Regions from separate parts of the Homo sapiens genome. Here all the other regions are linked to region 2. The links are contacts of gene promoters, found by promoter capture Hi-C in human tissues and cell types (Jung and others, 2019). All regions are on one chromosome and are shown on one strand. Each heading gives the region's core, a stretch centred on a gene start or on the middle of the fragment in contact. The rest is flanking DNA. Distances are from core to core; before and after follow the strand shown. Region 1 overlaps UNC13B (unc-13 homolog B). Region 2 holds the start of CCL21 (C-C motif chemokine ligand 21). Region 3 has its middle 15 kb from the start of RUSC2.

Region 1 (4,535 bases), core at 176-2,675, 640 kb after region 2:
GATTACTAAGTGAGTTTGGTGCCCTTCCTATATCACCAGAAGAGATTCTTGAGTTCAAAGTTCATCCCAGGGCAGTGGCTACCAACTCATAAGAAGGTGTGGAGGCTTTTGTTTGTTTAATATGGAAGGAAGCATCTTTGTTTGAGGCTGGGAGAAGCTGCTATGGCAGCTCTAGTTGAAAATTTCCTATTTGTCAGTAACATGGGGAACCAGGCAGCTCTGCCTTCAGTCTTCAGGAGGCCACAGGAAAGGACTCTGAACCCAGTGGCTATGCCATTTGCCCCCTGTGTGGCTGGCCAGCCAGTGTCGTAAGCACTGTAGTTTGGAAGGGAATACCTTGTAAGGTGTCCGGGAAATGAGGCCAAGTATGTCTGGAGGGCTGGGCACGGTGGCTCACACCTGTAATCCTAGCACTTTGGGAGGCGAGATGGGCGGATCACCTGAGGTCGGGAGTTTGAGACCAGCCTGACCAACATGGAGAAACCCCATCTCTACTAAAACAAAAACAAAAACAAAACAAAACAAAACAAAAACTTATGTCTGCAGTATTGATCTGAGGGGCAGAAGCAGATAGGCCCCAGGTTAGCCTGGTCTACACTGAATCAGTAGCAGTAGCAGGGGAGTCAGCTTCATTAGTGTTCCCGACAAACTGCCTTATCTGGACCAAAGTGAGGCTGGCCTTAGAAGACCTGGCAATGAATTCTGGGCCTCACCAGCATTGGAAAAATAAAGCTTGGCTTCTATAGCCATTTATCTCTTCCTCAGCGTTCAGGCTGTCTGAGAGACGGCCGGCCTCCTGACACTTGAATGAGGTGTTGGGAACTGAATGATTTACTCCTCCTTCTCCTTACCTTAAAAAGAAAACTTCTAGGAGAAAGCAGGACTAACTTTAAGGGTGACAGTCTCCTCGTAGGATTCCAGGCACTGCTGCAGACCATTAGAAGGGAGTGGGAAAGGCAGGAGTCTGGGGCAGAAGTAGAAGTCATGGCTCACTCAAATTGTGCCAGTTAGGTGGTTGGATGCTTGCTTTAGATATGGGTTTCCCTACTTTGTTGACTCAGGGACTTGCCACATCAGTAGCAATAACAACAGGACAGTGCTTTACAGTTTAGTAAGTACAGTTCTCTCATTTTAGCTTTATATAATAACATTCCTGTAATTATCTCCCCCACTTTACAGATGAGGAAACTAATTCACATAGAGGTCAAGTGTTTAATCCAAGGTCACTGGTGGAACAAGACCCAAACTTAAGTCTCTTGATGCCAGTCCAGTAGCACTTGCTCATGGCTTCATGTAGTTGTACACAGAGCTTCCATCTTAGTTTACTAAGCTTACTAAGCAATTCTAATTTTTTTTTTTGAGACAGTCTTGCTCTATTGCCCAGGCTGGAGTGCAGTGGTGCGATCTTGGCTCACCGCAACCTCTGCCTCCTGGGTTCAAGTGATTCTCTTGCCTCAGCCTCCCGAGTAGCTGGGATTACAGGCACCTGCCATCACTCCCAGCTAATTTTTATATTTTTAATAGAGAGGGGGTTTCACCATATTGGCCAGGCTGGTCTCAAACTCCTGACCTTGTGATCTGCCTGCCTCGGCCTCCCAAAGTGCTGGGATTACAGGCGAGAGCCACCACGCCCAGCCGCAGTACTTCTTTTTTAAAGACAAATTTGAAAGGCCACTTGCCAGCTGCAGCCCTTGTAAAGCCAGGAACATTGTTCATGGCTAATACCAAGAGCAAATCAGGGATACCCAATCCCTACATGGTTGGGGAGGAAAAAAAAAAAAAAAAAAAGGAGTATCTTTGGAAATTCAGATTTTGTCCTTGTGGGAAGAGAGAAGGAAGAATTTGGCATCCTCTAGACTTTGGAGCGTGGTCTACCTAGGCAGCTGGGCACCAAGCCCAAGACCCAGAAATTCTGGTTGTGCAGGTAGTGCATCCTCGCAGGCTAGACTGAGTTGGCCAGATTAGGGGCATGGCTGTTCCTGGCCCCATGAGACCTTGAGGTGAAGCAGTAATGCCTCACAGGATGGATAGGGTTCTTAGATGAAGAATTCCTCAATGAATTAGAGTTGTTAGATAAGCTGGAAAGAAAAGGAGAGATGTGAAATGGGAATACATGCAGTTTCTGTCTCTTGGTTCTTGGCCTAGTTATTTCTAGTAAAAAGAATCAGCTTCATCTTTATCCCAAGTCCTCTGACTCGTCCTTCTGGTTCCTCCTAGTCTGGGGAAGCACAATGCTTTTAAATTCCAGGCCCACAGACTAGATGTAGGTGGTGGCCTTTCCTGAAAATGGGTTGCCATGAGAGCAGTCTGCCTGTGTTCTTTAAGGCATTTTCCCACTTTTAGGATTAACTTGAGTACTGGGAAAATAAAAGGAGGCAGAGTTTAGAAGATTTAGAAATCTCCATCAAATCTAGAAAATGGGGAAAGCATCCCTGGTCAAAGAACATGAAGAGTAGCATGTCTCCCACCAATCCATCTTACCCCTCCCAGGAGACCTAGCAGGACTGGAATATTAGTTGTCCCATGTGCCTCCTAGATCTCTGCTTTCCTCCTTGTACTTTCCACTCTACTGCTTCCGTACACTCTCCACATTCTCAGTAAAAAGGGAATGTATTCTCACTCCACATGAGGTAATCATCGTCTCTGCCTCTGTAATGCAGTCACCAATAGCTTAGGGTGTAGGGACTAGACTGGTGGCAAGTCTGTCTTTACCTTATTGGAGAAGAGTAAAGCACCCTGGAGCCCTCTGTGAGGTAACCCTCCCCCACATGTCCCATGTGATATTCTCTCTGGGCCAGGCAGAGGATTAGAGCAACCCTTTGTTATTAATACTTGAGCAGTGGACAGTGTGCTGGACAATCACTTATTGTGGTGCTCTGAAAGATCCTCTGTGGGCCAGGAAAGCCAAACCCAGATATTGACTAGCTGCAGCAAGCCCTTAGAGAGTATTAAGTGGAGCTCAGGAGCACCAAGCTAAGCCTAAACCTCCTTCATCCCCAGTTGTGAGTTCATGATACCTGTCTCTTTGGCTACCTGCCTCTCTACCTGCCTCTCTCATGCTAAATGCCACCTACGTCTGGACAGTGTGTGCGTACTGTGCCACTTTATTCTAGAATTAGGTAAAGAAATATTTTTCCTGCTAAGTTTAAAATACGTAAACCATTGTCCTTTCTCCAAGTGAACGGTTGCCATCACTCAACAAAGGGAAAATACTTTGTGCTATAAGCACAGGCAGGGGTAAACTTTTGAGTAAGTGGAGTCTTCACCAGAACAACAAACTGGAAAAGAAAGAAAGAAAGAAACATTCCATGTCTTGTCTTTCACTGTGTATGTGATTTGAGCCTTGGTGGTTAAGCATTTGTTTGTTTATTTCTGAGCCAGACTCCTAGTACTGAATTTTGTGAAAGTTCAAATAAGGACTTACTCATTGACCTTACTTCATCTACCTCCCAGCAGCTTGTCTCAATATCGTTGACTTTGGGTACTTGCCCAGAACACAAGGACTTTATTTTAATTTTACATTGATACTCTAAGGGGAAGCTAATGAGAAACAACTGACTGCCCATAGCCTTTAAGACTGGGGTTGGGAGGCAGGTCAGGGTTGATTCCTATAATCTTAGGAGATAATGTTTTTATTCCTGCTTGACAACTTGATTCAAACTAAAATCATCCTGCTACTTTCTGACCTGAGTGCACTATTTTCCTTTTTCACTAGCTACAGGATAAATCAAGCCAGGATCCAGGGGCATGTGCGAGGTTTGGAGGCCACACATGGGGCCATTCCAGGCAGCACTGTGGGCTAAGCCCAAAGCATCAGCCAGCAATAATTGCTAGAAACAAACTGAAAAGAGCAGGACAGGCTGTTGCCTTCCAAGGTAATCTCTATTAAGCATCCTGACCAGAAATAAGAGGAAGAAGCAGAGAACCCCTCAAACCCTGAGGGAGAAAATGAAGCGATTGTTGCAAGAGTCAGAGGAAGAAATCATGGTTACCTTGGGACCCTCCTCCAGGCTTTCCCCAGATAAGGCTAAGGCAGAGACCATGTGTGGCACCAAGAGCAAATCCTCTGGCCCTGCTGGATCCTTACCAGAGGACAACTCCCTGCCCCCTTGCTGTGGGTCAGCAGCCTTAGCCATTGGTGGAGATAGAGATGGGGACCTGGCCCAGCTTTGCAGCTTTGGGCAGCAGAACAACAGCCAGCTTCCTCTGGGCTCCACTGCCTATGTTTCAGGGTCTGGTTCTCAGGATCCCTCATCTGTCAGCATTACCACAAGCTGTCAGGAGCCCTCAGAGAGGAACCAAACCAAGACCCTTTTGTCCAGAGGCCATGGCCAAGGCTGTAGCCGTGAACAGCGGGAACCTTTGGGGGATGTAGTAGAATACATCATCAGAGAGCTGCAAGGCATCAGCCGTCTTCAGACTGAGATTGCTGAGCTGCAGCAGCACTTGAGCCAAGTCCAGGGTTCCGTGGATGAAGTCTCTAGCTGTGTAGACTCAGTACTGAGTGAAATAGAAGGCTTACAGGTGAGCACCTG
Region 2 (4,667 bases), core at 2,157-4,656:
TTTCTTTTCACTATAGAGTAGGCAAGAGTTTTGGCAGGGCTGGGAGTGATGTCCTGATGTCAAAGGGAGCCTGACGTCAAAGGCCTTTTGTAAATGTCTTACACCAGGGGAAAATGCCGGGCATAGAGGCTCACACCTGTAATCCCAGCAACTTGGAGCCTGAGGCAGGAGGATCCCTTGAGCCCAGGAGTTTGAGGTTACAGTGAGCTATGATCCTACCTTTGCACTCCAGCCTGGACTACAAAGCAAGCCTTAAAAAAAAAAAAAAGTAAACTTGTAAACTTGGGGAAGAGGTTATGCCCTGGAGGGGCTGAGGAGAGGGAGACAATTGTTTAGGACTGCGAAGGGATTAGTGTGTACATCCAGCCAGAGTGGGCACTGGGCTCTAATTTCTGTCTGTGATGGGGCAAGTGACAGGACTGTTGAGTAGATGGCTTCGGGGGTATCTGGGGAGGTCAAGTCCAAGCCCAGAGGCTGTCATATCTGAATTCTTATGTCTCAAATGTGGAGTCTAGGACTTGAAGAGATATACCTGCTGGAACCACAGGGGTCAGAACACTCACTGGCGAGACTGATGTCCAATGATAGGATGGTGTAGGAGGCAGGTAGGAGGCCTCCCTTGGGCCTTGAGGTTTCTGTGACCTTTGCATAACCCTTGGCAGGTGGGATCCCACAAGAGTGCCTGATGTTGAATTTCTCATCAGCACTCTAGTGCAGTAGCTTGGAGTAGGAATTAAGTTCATTTAAGGAACATTTCAAAAGTAGTATTTCTTGCATATCTGAGTTTATAGATTAATTTCACACCTGCTGCCCTAGGACAGGCAGGGGAGAGGCCCTGTCTTCACCTGCTGCAAGAGGAGCAGACAAGCCAATACTTGAGGATGTTAGGATAGGTGGTAAGTGCTGTGGCATACTCAGGCTCCTACAGAAGGAAAAGTTGATGGAGCAGCCACTTCTAGCTTCTGAGGTTCCTACCTTTCTTCTTCTTCTTCTCCTCCTTTTTTTTTCTTTTCCTGAAATGGAGTCTTGCTCTTGTCGCCCAGACTGGAGTGCAATGGCACAATCGATCTCACCTCACTGCAACCTCCGCCTCCTGGGTTCAAGTGATTCTCCTTCCTCAGCCTCCCGAGTAGCTGGGATTACAGGCGCCCGCCACAATGCCCGGCTAATTTTTGTATTTTTAGTAGAGACGGGGTTTCACCATGTTGGCCAGGCTGGTCAGGAACTCCTGACCTCATGATCCGCCTGCCTTGGCCTCCCAAAGTGCTGGGATTACAGGCCTGAGCCACCGCGCCCGGCCTTGAGGTTCCTACCTTTCTTGCCCTTCCCCAGGATCTGTTCCCTTCTTTCTCACATTGTCTGGCCCAATCTGATGGCTTCTACTCTCCCCGCCTGGAGGTGATTTGGGGAATAGAAGGGTCTTCACTCTGGGGAGGAAGAGGTAGAGGAGAGCCATCTGAGGCCTTCCAGGAGAGGAGACTGATTCACACCTGAATCCTGGGGTTCTGAAAACCTGCCCCAGGAGACTTATTCCTTGACTTCAAAGGGTTAAATGGGCTAAAGTAGTCTGGATCCCAGCCAGGAAAGAAAGGAGGAAAAAAAAAGGGAGGAGGTTTTTCCATCTGGAAGGAGGCTGAGTGAGTCCAGGGGCCCAGATAGGAATAGAAGGAGAGCACAACAGCCCCATTAAACAAAGAGGAGAGGTCAAGGCCCGAGCTTCACTGAATAGGGCTGAAGCAAGTCCCCTCGGGTCTTTGCCTCCCAGGGGCTCTCTCAGGGCTGGAACTGTGCTAGGGCAGGTTTCAATATAACTTGTGTTTGTCTGTGTTATAGATGGGCCCAAGCCACAGCTTCCCTCCTAGGGACCCTTCCAAAGAACCACTTGGAGGGTCTCATTGAATAGTTCCCAGGGAAAAGAGAGGAAGCCTCTGGGATATCTGGGGAAAGGTCTGAAGGTCATGGAAAAGATCCGAAGGTCACCCCTGGAGTTAGTGCAGGACAGAATCAGGGTCTCAGAGGTCTGCAGAGCTGTTGGGGGTGTGTGCTCCATGTCCACCACCTCTCCATTGGCAGGATGCCTCAGAAGACTGGGTCCTACCCTGTCCTTCAGCCTCCCTTTAACTGCTCAGGGGTGCAGGCACCTGAGAGGCAAGGAAACTCTTGGGGTAGATGAGAACATAGCATTTTTCAGCCTGAGCTTTCGGCTCAGAGTGTGTGACCCCACCCTGTAGGAACCTTGGCATCTCGGTGGACATAAACACATGGGAACAGGTACTTGGGTGGGAAGACAGAACAGCTTTTTATTCAGTTAGGTATAAATCATATTTACAAGGAAGAGGTGGGGTGTACTGGGGAGCCGTATCAGGTCCAGGGTCCTGATGATTCTCCTTCAAGGGGACAGTCCTGCTGCCTCCTCTCATGCTCCCTGGGAGACTCTCCCTCCTCGGTCTCTCTGGACCTGGCCTGCTGTGGGCAGCTCAGCCATGCAGGGTAGAGCTGGGAATGCAGATGGGGTGGTTAAAGCAGGAGAAAGAGTGTGGCAAGGCCAGCATGGGGTGGCTGCTCCAGGGCCCCTGAGCATAGCCTCCTTCTTGCATCTTGGGTTCAGGCTTCAAGCGCTGGTGAGGCTGGTGGGGTCTCCAGGGCTCCAGGCTGCTCACTGGGCTATGGCCCTTTAGGGGTCTGTGACCGCTCAGTCCTGTGAGGGCAGAAGAGGGGTGTGAGGGGCTGACTGAGGCTCCCCTTTACCCACATCCCTCAGATTCCTCACCTCTTGCAGCCTTTGGAGCCCTTTCCTTTCTTGCCAGTCTTGGAGGCCCCCCTGTCCTTCCTGCAGCCCTGGGCTGGTTTCTGTGGGGATGGTGTCTTGTCCAGATGCTGCATCAGCTGCTGCACCCAGAGCTCCTTTGGGTCTGCACATAGCTCTGCCTGAGAGCGCTTGCGGGGCAAGAACCTGCGGGTGGGGGCTAGTAAGCCTTCTTAGTCTTGCCCACCATGCCCTCCCCACCCCGTCACCAGCCAGTACCCACCCCTTTGTGTCCACTCACAGGATAGCTGGGATGGAGCAGCCTAAGCTTGGTTCCTGCTTCCGGTAGCTGCGGACAACCTTGGCGGGAATCTTCCTTTGGCTGTACTTGAGGCAACAGTCCTGAGCCCCTCCATCACTGCCTGCAGGGTGGGATTCACAGGGAGCCAGGGGCTGCTGGCAAGCTCCTATCCAGGCCTCTTGATCCCCTTAGCCCCATGCAAGGCCCCTCCCTGCCTTGGTACCTTGGGTCCTGGGGATGCCAAAGGCCAGAACCAGGATAAGGAGGCTCAGAGCCAGTGACTGAGCCATGTCTGTGGTAGAGGGTGAGTAAGAGGCCAGAGCTGAGGGTGAGGTGGGCAGCTGCAAGTTGGGGGTCTGTGCGTGGGCTGGGATTGGCCTGCTATTTATGTAGCTAGACACTTTCACTTCCCTTAACTTATCCCCACTCCTTTTCCTTCCTGAAAGCTGGATTTGCTGGCACCCAGCCCCACTTATCTCAAACTAAGTGGACAGTCCTCAGCTGCCAAATTTTATGTCCTCATTAGTTGAATATGTCTGGGCCTGAGCCTTCCTTCTATTCCCAGCTACTGCTTTCATGCAGGCCTCACTGCCTCTCCCCTGGAACACCATGACTGTCTCCTCACTACGCTCCAGGATCCATACCCTTCCCCTCCTTCCAGCAAATCTGATTATTAAATTGTAAGAGTTCTTTTTTTTTTTTTTTTTTTTGAGACAGGGTCTAACTCTGTCACCCAGGCTGGAGTGCAGTGGTTGATCTTGGCTCACTGAAATCTCCGCCTCCTGGGCTCGAGTGATCCTCCTACCTCAACCTCCCCAGGAGCTGGGACTACAGGCAAGCACCACTGCGCCTGGCTGATTTTTCTATTTTTTTTTTGTAGAGACGAGGTTTCACGATGTCTAGCCCAGGCTAGTCTTGAGCTCCTGGGCTCAAATGATCTGCCTGCCTCAGCCTCTTGAGGAGCTGGGACCACAGGCACATGCCACTACGTCCGGCTACTGTTTTCATTTTTCATTTTTATTTTTTCTAGAGATGAGGTCTTGCTATGTTGCCCAGTCTGGTCTTGAACTCCTGGGCTCAAGCGATCCTCCTGCCTTGGCCACCCAAAGTGCTGGAATTATAGGTATGAGCGACTGCACCTGGTCTGTAGCATAACCATTTTGATTCCCCTTTGCTTTCCTTTTCTATATATTTTGTAGTTATTTTCCTAATGGATACCTTGGTGATTATAATTAACATTCTAAACTGATAACAACCTAGTTTGAATAATACCAACTTAGTTTCAATGGTATATAAACATTTTGCTCGTATACATTTTAGTCCCTTCTTTATATTGTTATTGTCACAGATTACATCTTTATACATTGTGTTCCCATTGACATAGATTTATAATTATTGTTTAATGCATTTTCCTTTTAAATTATATAGAAAAAAGTGGGGCTACAAACTAAAAATACAATACTAGCTTTTATCTTTTTTTTTTTTTTTGACACAGGGTCTCGCTTTGTCACCCAGGCTGGAGTGCGGTGGCACAATCTCAGCTCACAGCAGCCTCGACCTCCTGGGCTCAAGTGATCCTTCCACCTCAGTCTCCTGAGTAGTGGGGCCACCATGCCTGGC
Region 3 (4,743 bases), core at 979-3,478, 760 kb after region 2:
CCCGGGAGGTGGAAGTTGCAGTGAGCCAAGATCATGCCACTGCACTCCAGCCTGGGTGACAAGAGTGAAACTCCTGTCTAAAAAAAAAAAAAAAAAAGACTAGAGCACTCTAATATTTCCTATTATTTCCTATATTTCCTATTATTTGTTTGGTAACCATGTCAAACAAATTTTCACTTATATAAACTCTGAAGGCTTATTTTTGGATGAGCTGATTTGGGTGAGCCTCTTAATTCTCTGACCTGACCATATACTGGGTAAAGTTGAAAAGGACCATGAGTGTTTCCATGCTTGGCATCAGACATGTCTTCTACCCCTATTCAGTCTGTCATCCACTGGTCAAGAATCCCAAACATTCTAAAACTGTGTCCACATCTCTTCTGGGTAACTCTTATGATTGGAGGGCTTCCTGAGGTGTGAAGTCTATCACAGATCCAGTGACTAACTTCTAGCTTCATCTTATTCTCACTTAGGGGAGAAGAGTTGAGGCCCAAGCAAACCTCTTCTTACCATTGGCTTAGGGAAAGGAGCTTACTGGGAACTGGGAGCTAGGTGGCCTGAGGAGACTGGGGGGCAGGCATCTTGACTGCAAGTCTAGGATGAAGGAATCAGAATAAATAAGCTTTTAAGGCCCCTCCTTTAAATCACCATATGACCCAGCAATTTGATTCCTAGGTATATACCCCCAAAACTTGAAAACAAGAACTCGGATACATGTATACCAACGTTCATTGTGACATTATTCGCATAAGTCCAGAGATAGAAATAACCCACATGTCCATCCACAGATGAATGGATAAAGAAACTGTGGTATAGCATATACATACAATGGAATGTGAATCATCCATAAAAAGTAATGAAATTTGATACATGCTACAACATGGATGAACCTTGAAAGCATTATGCTAAGTGATGTAAGCTAAACACAAAAAGACAAAAATTTTATGATTCTACTTATGTGAACTATCTAGAATAGGCAAATTCATAGAGACAAAAAATAGACTAGAGGTTACTAGGGGCTGGTGATGGGAAAAAATGGGAAGTTTCTGTTTGGGGTGCTGAAAAAATGTTGGAAATATATAGTGGTGATTGTTGCACAACATTGTGAATATAATTAATGTCATTGCATTTTACATTTAAAATAGTTAAAATGGCAAGTTTTATGTGATATATATGTATATTTTTTTAACAACAATTTAAAGAAATTCAAACCCTCCTTTAAAACCCTTGCCAAGTCTCTGCTGTGTTCACTTACCAACAGGTGATACTTATGACAAGGATGGACAGAGGGTGACGGTCTCTGAGGTGAGTGATTACAGCTCCATGGGAAATGCATGTGGGAGCTGAGTGAGGCTGTGCTTCAGAGAAGCATCCTTAATACAAATCGAGACTCCCTTAGCCACTGAAATATTAAAGCTTTTACTGGTCCTGTAATATCAGAAAGCATTATATAAATGACCTATGTTTAATTCTGAAGATCTTCGTTTGTTCTTTTTAAACAAAAATAGCTTTATTGGCTTTTTCTCTTTAAAAAATAATCCATGCTCACTGTAAAAAAAAAAATTAAATAATACAGAAATGTGTGAAGAAAGTTAAAATTATTCCATCCCATTTAGATAGCCAGTGTAAAGTTGGGGAGTATATCCTATGCTTTTCATATGTGTATACACACACACATATGTACATCTAGATCTAGAAGATGGGGGAGATAAAATCATAGTATGCATGCTATTTCCAGTTTCCTTTTGTTCACTTGACACTATTATTGTCGTCATCTTTCCATGTCGGTAGGTCTAGGTCTACATCATCATTTTGAATGGGTGTCCACTATTCAGTTGTATCACTGTACCTTAATTTATTTAATTTCTTATTTTTATTCCATTTTCCTTTGCGATTACAAATGACATTTTGGTAATCATTATGGAACATACATTTTGTCTACTTTTCTGATAATTATTTCTTTAGAATAAAGTCCTAGAAGTAAAATTCATTGGTCAAAAGGTAGCCACGTTTTAATACATTAAATAGTGCCACATTGCCCTCCAGGTAGATTCGCATAACTTTATAATCCCACCAAAAATATATGACATTTTGTTTTCCCCCATATGCTTGTCAGAACTGGTATTAACAATTTTTAATCTGTTGAAATTTAATTGATGAAAAATGGTATCTAATTATTTAATTTACCTTTTTTGATGACTAATTAGGTTGAATCATTTTTATGTGCTTATTTTTCTTCCCCTTATCATCTCTTTATTGCCCATTTACACTTACTTTGTGAACTGTCTATTCATATTCTTTGGCCTTTTTTTCTTATTTGAAAATGCTCTTTATACAGTAAAAATACTAGCTCTTCCTTTTTCTGGTGCATATGTTATAATTATTTTTCCCATTTTGTCTTTTGGTTTTTAATTTGTTAAATAATATTTTGTGTAGAAGTGTTTAATTCATGTAATCAAATCTATCAGTCATTTTCCTTTGTAACTTAAGGATTTGTGACATATTCAACAGGCTTTATAAAATTATAAAAATATCTTCCTATTCATTCTTCTTATCTCTAGTTGGTTTTTACTGTTTTCTCTAGTATTGGACCCAGCTTTTGTTTATGGATTTGTTTTTAAGTGTCCCTTCACAGGGGTTCTTCTGCTGCCTTCAGGGTATTCCTCACCTTATCTCTGTCTTGCTAGACCCAATTCCAAACTGAGCCACTTGACTTATGTACCAAACATCTGACTCCAGTTCTCAACTGTTGCCTTACCCCTGTCCATCCAAAGAGATTGGGAAGGGGAAGGAAATTCAGTGATTTGCCTTAAATCATCTTCCAGGGGCTTGGCTAATGACCTTGGCAATATAGGCAAAATTATAGCTTCTAGGGAGTAAATCCCTCCTGGAGTTTCTTTCCTCTCCTTCTGTCCACTACTGATTGACCGTAACACATTTTTCACTAAATCACTGGAATTTTTGTTCTCTTATAAACAAACTTACCTATAGCCTCAATCCCTTCATTAATTGAAACATGATTTTCCCTGAGAACATTCCTTTTTCTTCCATCTCTCTCATACTCTGCATACCATAAACTCTGGATACCATAAGCCCAAAGGTGTTGCCCTCATTATCCTGTGCCATGTTTAACCATTAGTTTTTCTCTCCTACACAATCTTTCTTCCTGTGATGCTTATGACTTCTGGCTATACTCATCTGTAACTCTTCTTGTTGTTGATATCTAGGAAGCTTCTGGCTTCTACACCCCATTCATTGAGGGCTTTGAAACTTCTCCCTCCCCTCCCAACCACTGCTATTGTTTTGGGTGGTATTGTCATCCTTATGGACGACCTATCACTGTAGACTCTTTCAGGTCTCTGAAAGAATCCTTCAGATGATCTCTTGGACAAAAAAAAAAAAAAATCTGTATCACCCATTTCCATGTTACCATGTAATTGTCCAGAGTTGTACTAATGTGGAATTATAAACTTTCTTTTCACAATCTTTGATCACAAACCTTATTCCTCCATATTCTCAGTACATGGCTCGTACTTGAGATTTTTAAAAGTATTCCTGCTTTTTTATCTCATGGAGATTTATAAACCCTTGGCTTTCTTTTTTCTCCAGTCTATCAATTCCTTATGACTTTACTTCCTTTCCTAGCTTGCCTGTCTGTACCCTGGGATCATAAGCATCCTCAGTACCTTACTAGTTCTCCTTTTCTTCTCTTTAATCACTGAACAAATCTCAACCTTGAATTAACCAAACCATCGACCCTGCTCTGTTTCTAATTTGAGAGTGTTAAGCACTATTTTGGAGATCATAAAACCATTACAAATTCAGAGACTCCACTGTCCTCTGTCCCAGTGCCACTTGGCAAATTTTTCACCATTTTGTAATTGGCTTCATATTTTATTCTCCGTATCAGCTTTTCTAAACAATCACCATTCTCAGACCTTCTACCACACTCTCCTGGCTCCCCAGTACGTAGCAAATGATACTGCCTTCTATTTTACTGAGAAAAATCCAAACTATCAGCTAAATATCCTCCTCTGTACATATATTTTAACCCGCCTTTACCTCCTTTCCTTCAGTCTCAAAAGAAGTATAACTTTTTCCTTCAGTACTAATCTATATATTGTAGTTTCCATCCCTTCCTACTTCTTCAGGAACCTCAGTCAATCCTGTATTCTCTCTTTCTTAATATCTGACTATCCCCTTATATGATTCTTTCCCCTCAGCTCGTCTTTTTTTTTTTTCCCCGCGGAGTCTGGCTGCATCCCCCAGGCTGGAGTGCGGCGGCACGATCTCAGCTCACTGCAGCCTCCGCCTCCTAGGCTCAGGTGATTGTCATGCCTCAGCCTCCTAAGTAGCTAGGATTACAGGCGTGGCCACCACACCTGGGTTAAACTTTCCCTTAAGCTGTTTTCACTGATGTTGAGACTTAGAATTTCCAAACATATGTAGTGGGAACAAATTCCTGGATCTTGGAGTTTTCTTAGCATCCAAAGTCATCTTTTTGGAACAGGCTAAGCCTCAAGGAGCCTCTGGGTCATGCCAGATAGGCCAGATATGGCGTTCACCTATAGCCATACTCGGAAATACAGCTTCCCTTTGCTTCTCCTTCCCCACTCAGACAGCCTGTACTCCTGACCCCAACACACACACAATTGTTACTTTGATGAATTCATTCCACATTTGAATGTGAAACCTCCCCCACCTTAGTGGGGAGAAGCAACACCTGGATTTTGATGCTCTAAG

The links. The method cuts DNA at HindIII sites, captures the fragments that hold promoters and counts their contacts. A contact is called where the count stands out against the background at its distance.
Region 1: a contact is called between a fragment that was not itself captured here and the fragment with the promoter of CCL21 in region 2, in 1 of the 25 tissues and cell types used here (thymus).
Region 3: a contact is called between a fragment that was not itself captured here and the fragment with the promoter of CCL21 in region 2, in 2 of the 25 tissues and cell types used here (dorsolateral prefrontal cortex and lymphoblastoid cells).

Annotation. Positions count from the first base shown.
Region 1 is chr9:35,347,579-35,352,113 of GRCh38, forward strand. All of the region lies in intron 11 of UNC13B (unc-13 homolog B), which reads left to right. Among named protein-coding and RNA genes, the nearest start is that of RUSC2, 140 kb to the right of the region's middle. The HindIII fragment of the contact is 3,146 bases long and covers 1-2,998 here.
Region 2 is chr9:34,706,730-34,711,396 of GRCh38, forward strand. CCL21 (C-C motif chemokine ligand 21) reads right to left here and starts at 3,407. Exons shown (of 4, transcript NM_002989.4): 1 at 3,271-3,407; 2 at 3,048-3,168; 3 at 2,771-2,953; 4 at 2,276-2,698. The coding sequence starts at 3,337. The coding sequence ends at 2,665. It also overlaps a transcript of PHF24 not described here. The HindIII fragment of the contact is 9,492 bases long and covers 1-4,667 here.
Region 3 is chr9:35,472,467-35,477,209 of GRCh38, forward strand. It overlaps the pseudogene ATP8B5P. Among named protein-coding and RNA genes, the nearest start is that of RUSC2, 15 kb to the right of the region's middle. The HindIII fragment of the contact is 4,317 bases long and covers 71-4,387 here.